Regions from separate parts of the Homo sapiens genome. Here region 1 is linked to region 2. The links are contacts of gene promoters, found by promoter capture Hi-C in blood cells and fetal thymus (Javierre and others, 2016). All regions are on one chromosome and are shown on one strand. The core of a region is centred on a gene start or on the middle of the fragment in contact, and the rest is flanking DNA. Distances in the headings are between cores, read along the strand shown. Region 1 overlaps DCAF8 (DDB1 and CUL4 associated factor 8). Region 2 holds the start of KCNJ10 (potassium inwardly rectifying channel subfamily J member 10).

Evidence for each region. Contacts are between HindIII fragments. The CHiCAGO score rates a contact against its expected background, and 5 or more counts as called.
Region 1: a contact is called between a fragment that was not itself captured here and the fragment with the promoter of KCNJ10 in region 2, in 1 of 17 cell types (naive CD8 T cells). The highest score is 5.5, in naive CD8 T cells.

The regions. Positions count from the first base shown.
Region 1 is chr1:160,253,063-160,256,028 of GRCh38, forward strand. The region is part of intron 2 of DCAF8 (DDB1 and CUL4 associated factor 8); the gene reads right to left. Among named protein-coding and RNA genes, the nearest start is that of DCAF8-DT, 7.2 kb to the right of the region's middle. The HindIII fragment of the contact is 4,406 bases long and covers 1-2,966 here.
Region 2 is chr1:160,068,521-160,071,525 of GRCh38, forward strand. KCNJ10 (potassium inwardly rectifying channel subfamily J member 10) reads right to left here and starts at 1,640. Exons shown (of 2, transcript NM_002241.5): 1 at 1,502-1,640. RefSeq lists an enhancer at 1,022-1,191, a cis regulatory region at 1,107 and a silencer at 1,602-1,831. The HindIII fragment of the contact is 4,127 bases long and covers 1-3,005 here.

The DNA of each region.
Region 1 (2,966 bases), core at 451-2,950, 180 kb after region 2:
TAAGAAGGCTCTGGGAGAGGATGTTCAAGGGAAGAATCTTGAGGAATACCTACCCTTAGAGAAGAGAAAGGAGAGCAGAGAGAAAAATTGAGAAGAACGAATAATCAAAATTAAACCTCTGGAAGTCAAGAATAAAAAGGTTTCAAGGTGAGGATAGGCTGGGCGCAGTGACTCATGCCTGTAATCCCAGCACTTTGGGAGGCTGAGGCTGGAGGATCGCTTGAGTCCAGGAATTTGAGACCAACCTGGGCAACATCAGGAGACCCTGTCTCTAGAAAAAATTTAAAAATTAGGCTGCGCACAGTGGCTGACGTCTAAGTGACGCTGGTAATCCCAGCACTTTGGGAGGCTGAGGCGGGTGGATCACCTGAGGTCAGGAGTTTGAGACAAGCCTGGCCAACATGGTGAAACCCTGTCTCTACTAAAAATACAAAAATTAGCCACACGCGGTGGCATACGCCTGTGATTCCAGCTACTCAGGAGGCTGAGGCAGGAGAATCACTTGAACCTGGGAGGCAAAGGTTGCAGTGAGCCGAGATCGCACCATTGCACTCCAGCCTGTGCGACAGGGTGAGACTCCATCTCAAAAAAAAAAAAAAAAAAAAAAAAAAAAAATAGCAGGGTGTGGTGGTGTACACCTGTAGTCCCAGCTACTTGGGAGGCTGAAGTGGGAGGATCACTGGAGTCCCAGAGGTCGAGATTGCAGTGAACTGTGATGGGGTCACTGCACTCCAGCCTGGGTGACAGAGCAAGTCCCTGTCTCAGAAAAACAAACAAAAAAACCAAGAAGGTAAGGAGGATAGTCCATGCTTCCAAAAAAATACAGAGAACAGTATACTGTCAAAAGGCTGTAAGAGTCAGAACAGCTTTTCCCCTGGAATTATCTCAGAGATTGAATGGAATGCTGATTTTCTCTCCAGTAAAGAATCATAAAACACTAGGATTCAGCTATCTCTTAAATCTATAAAAATTATTTCCTGGGATGGGTGCGTGGCTCATGCCTGTAATCCCAACACTTTGGGAGGCCGAGGCAGGCGGATCATGAGGTCAGGAGTTTGAGACCAGCCTGGCCAACATGGTGAAGCTCCGTCTCTACTAAAAATACAAAAATAAGCTAGGTATGGTGGTGCATGCCTGTAATCCCAGCTACTGGGGAGACTGAGGCAGAAGAATCGCATGAAACTGGAAGGCAGAGGTTGCAATGAGCCAAGATTGTGCCACTGCACTCCAACCTGGGCCAAAGAACGAAACTCTGTCTCAAAAAAAAAAAAAAATTGTTTTCTTAAAAACTCATTAGCTTACCAATATAGCATAACTATGTCTAAACAATAAAAAAAGTTTGTATTCCTACTGTCATTTGAATAATTTATATACATATGTTTATAAGAAATATTTAATTCTACCTTTCAGCTTCATCTCTTGGCTTTGAAAAGCCCTGGTTTTTTTTTTGGCCAGGTACCATGGCTCACGCCTGTAATCCCCACACTTTAGGAGGCCGGGCCGGGTGGATCACGAGGTCAAGAGATCAAGACCATCTTGGCCAACATGGTAAAACCCCATTTCTACTAAAAATACAAAAATTAGCTGGGCATGGTGGCATGCGCCTGTAGTCTTAGCTACTCGGAGGCTGAGGCAGGAGGACTGCTTGAACCCGAGAGGGGAAGGTTTCAGTGAGCCAAGTCATGCCACTGCACTACAGCCTGGCGACAAAGCAAGACTCCATCTAAAAAAAAAAGAAAAAAGAAAAGTCCTATTTTTAAAGACAGCATGTGTTATGAAAGAAAGAAAAGGGCTTTGGTGTCAAACAGACCTGGGTTTGAATTCTACCTCTACCACCTGCTTTTGAGTTTTTCTTTTGTAAAATGGGATAATATTACCACCCTGCAGGAATTTAGAGGATTAAAAATAATGTATGCTAAGAGCCTGTTTGTACATAGTAGCCATTTATATTATTTTTCTAGTTTCCCATCTCTATACCAGACTACATTTCCTAGAAAATCCTGGACCTCTTTACCACTCAGCAATGATTCTCCAAACATCGTATATAATATAGGACACAGTCCCAAGTCTATGAAATCTGCTTACCCTTTCTGGCGTTTTAAAGAATTCAGAGAGCTCCGTTAATATCTTCTTTCAAGTATTCATGTTCTACGAACTGCAGTAAGACAATCTACCCAGGAACCCACAATATAAGCCTCCCTAAGTTTTTCTCCCTCTTTTAATTTTTAAAATAGATTTTTTTACTATTATTATCGTAGAGACGGAGTCTCACTATCTTGCCGCGTGGTCTCAAACTCCTGAGCTCAAGTAATCCTCCTACCTTGGCCTCCCAAAGTGCTGGGATTATAGGTATGTACCACCACACCTGGCCTCTTCTCCCTCTTGAAGGTTCTGAGGATACCCAAGATGGAAGACTGCAAAGCAATCACCATGGATAATGATGAGGATTCAAACTATGAATAAGGAACTTTGTTCCTTCTTTGAATTAATGCCTTCTCTCCCTATTGGTAACATAAAATGCCCAGTGTTTATAGTTTACTGGCTTTAATTATTGTTTTTTTATTTTTATTTTTTTGAGACAGGGTCTCACTCTGTCACCCAGGCTGGAGTACACTGGTGTGATATTGGGTCACTGCAACCTCTGCCTTCTGGGTTCAAGCAATTCTCCCGCCTCAGCCTCCCAAGTAGCTGGGACTACAGGTGCATGCCACTGCAGCTGGCTAATTTTTATATTTTTAGTAGACACAGGGTTTTGCTATGTTGGCTAGGCTGGTCTCAAACTCCTGACCTCAGGTGATCCGCCCGTCTCAGCCTCCCAAAATGCTGGGATTACAGATGTAAGCCACCGTGCATGGCCTCTGGCTTTAATTCTAATAACAGTATTTCAGACTATGTCAGGAATGCACTCTAACCCTTAAGTGTTAATTTCCAGCAGCAGAACTAAGCAAACTTTTTTTTTTTTTTTT
Region 2 (3,005 bases), core at 390-2,889:
GAGTTGGCACTGCCTGGGCCGTGCCTATTGCCTCCACAATCCAGCCCTGGACCCTCTCCCTGGCATGATGCCTTCCATCCCCCTCCTCCCTCGTTTCTTCCTCCCTGAAGAACCAGCTATGAGTCAGGATGCCTGGTTCCTTCCAAACTTGGTCCCCTATACCCAGTCTACCCCCAGAGAAATTTACAAGCCCTACCACTTGGCACAGGATGGTACCCACCATCATGCCAGGAATATGTTCAAAAATCCTTGGAGATTAGGGAGAGAGTTTCAGGATGAAACTAAATTGAACTCACTGGTGGCTGCCCACCCCTCCTGGGGCTAATTTCATGACAACCACTCCAGGCCCTCCTCAGCACCCTTAAACAAGGCCATCTCTCACATGGGGGCCCTAAATCTCCTGTCATTATCTCCCTCCCACCCAGGCAGCCTAAAGCAGTCCCAGTGGGGAGAAAAAAAATTCAAACACCACAGCAAGAGCAGACTGGCCAGACATCTTTAGTCAGAATTTGTATTGGTAAGCAACAGAAGCAGGCTTTAAGCACTGGCCTCTTTGGGGTCCAAATCTGCACCAGCTTCTTCCCCATCTGCCTCACCCTGCCTGGGGCACTCACTGGAATTAAACTTCAAGACACCAGAACCCACCCTCACTTTTTCCCAGTGTTGTCCTTCTACCCATTCCTGGGTTCAGCTCTCCTCCCCCAAATCAGGAAGTTCCATCCTTCATCTGTTCCCTAACACAGGTGCCCTGGGTTAGTTCTGATGAGAGGAGGAATGGAATGGGAAGGGGCGTCTCCATCTGGAGGGTGAGTTTATAGAACCCAATCTGCCCTTCTCACTCTAGCAGAAGTGGCCCTGCTCCTTTCCTTCTGGAAATCCCAGTGCGAAACAGCTGGGGTGAGGGTGAGGGGCCATGAGGAGGGATGTCTTAAAATGGGAGCCACTCAGAATAGAAGGAAGAGATTGGGTGGGCAGGGGTCTGGAGCACACCAGGCTTTGGTGGCTCCCCGGTTTAAGCTGCCAGTATCTGTTTTTCTCCCCATGTGGGAACTAGCGATCATGGGTGTCACTATGTGATTGTCACTGTATGGGGAGTGGGGGAGGGGCTGGGGATGGGAGTAACCTGTCCATATGGGGAGGAGGGCGCACTGTCTGTTGTGCCTGTGTATGGGGTGCCTGGTTATGTGTGGTTGTCACTGTATTAACTAGAGGAGCAGGGATGCAACTGCTGGTCTGCCCAGTGGGAGGGGGCATCGGGAAAGCCCCTTCCTTAGATGAAAGGGCTGAGGTGACCAGCCTGGCTAGTTTCCTCGTGGGGAGCCCTTCCCAGGAGGCTCCATTTGGGACTGCCCAAGGCGGGAGGCAGGGGAACAAGACGGTGGTACCGCTGAGGCCAGGCAGGGTAGGGACTGAGGATCTGGGACCCCGATGTCTCTGGAGAGTTAGGGGGACAGGACCCGGCCGGGGCGGCAGAACTCCTTCATCAGGGCCAGGGTCTTACCTTGGGTCCGAGGTGGAGTGGCCCCTTGGATGGGCCGCGGGGCAGCGGGACAGATGGACGGACGGGGCGGGCAGGAGTTAGGAGCAGAGCTGTGCGACGGGCCGGGCCAGGACTCTTAAACCCGGAGCTGGGATCAGATAAGGGCTTGTCCGGGGGCCGGGGCCGGGGTCGGGCCGGCCGGGGGCAGAGCTGGGCCGGGCCGGGCCGCCCCCTCCCTCCGCAGCGCCGGAGCCAAACTTTGTGTGAATGGAGGGGCCCGGAGGGGGGCCGGGCAGGCGGGGGCGGGGGGCTCCGAACAGACCAATGGGAGAGTGGAGCGCCAGGCTCGAGCCGCCGAGATTGGAGGGTCTTGGGCAGGGGGCGGGGCGTGCGGGGCAAGGAAGCGGAGACCCAGACAGCTGCAGGCGCAGAGAGAAATATCCAAAGACAGAGACCCAGACAGACCCGGGGAGAAAGAGAGATGAAGAGACGATATGCGAAACGATAGGAGCTGAGCTGGCAGGGTGACAGGGGAAGGGAGAAGGAAGAAAAGGGAGGCGGTCCTGTCAGCGATGGGTTACGAGAGCTGGAGCCGGGGGGCGGGACTGGGACCGAGTTAACGAAGTGGAAATGAATTCAGGACCGGCCCAGTGGCCCTGCAGGCAGCGCCGAAGGCGGCGCCTGGAAGTGAGATTGGGGCGGAGTAGGCCTGGGCTCCCTGAGCCACAGGACTGTATCTTTGGGCACAATTCCCGTGTTGTTCACCGTCTCCTAAGTCCCCGGTGCGGTGCTGGGTGAGAGACGCGCAGCACACGGTGCCCACCTGCAGCGGCTTTCTCTGTAAGGAAAGATAAGGCCGGAACCCTCAGCGAAGTGCGGGAGGTACTGAAGGCTGTAAAAGGGAGAGGTCATTCTACTCAGAGGGCTCCTAGCAGATGTGGGAGGAAAGAGGTAACATCTGATTAGGGTCCCAAAGGAAGCAGAAGATTCAGGTGCTGAGAGATGGTCCCCAGGACTCTGTTGCATTTAAGGCAGAGGGAACAACGTAGCAGAGTCCTGGGGAGACGTGAAAATACAAGTTCACTTGGGAAACAGCATCAAACTGTCCCATTTACTAGATTAGAGTGCAGGGTGATGGTTCTCAACCCTTTCATCACCAAAGATTTCTTTAATTTTCTGAATCTATGTGTTGAGAGGTTTTAATTCACCCCCACCCCCAGCATTTATTTAAAAAGAATATAATTATTTCCTCATTTCTGATCATCATAAACATTTAACTGCTAATCAATAACCAGTGTTACCATATTGAATTGCTATAAATTCAGGTAAAAAAAGGAAAGAAACTAGGAATGTAGCTTAGTTTAACCACTAAAAGCCATAAGATAAGTAAATGTCCATTCAAATAGCCTCATTGGAGAAGCTGGAAGGACGGGACTAAAGGTTAGGCACCATAGGCAGTGTTTGTGTTAAGGGGAACATCCGGAAGAAACACAGAGTTGTGCTGATTTGTGGTCAGGCCAGAGTT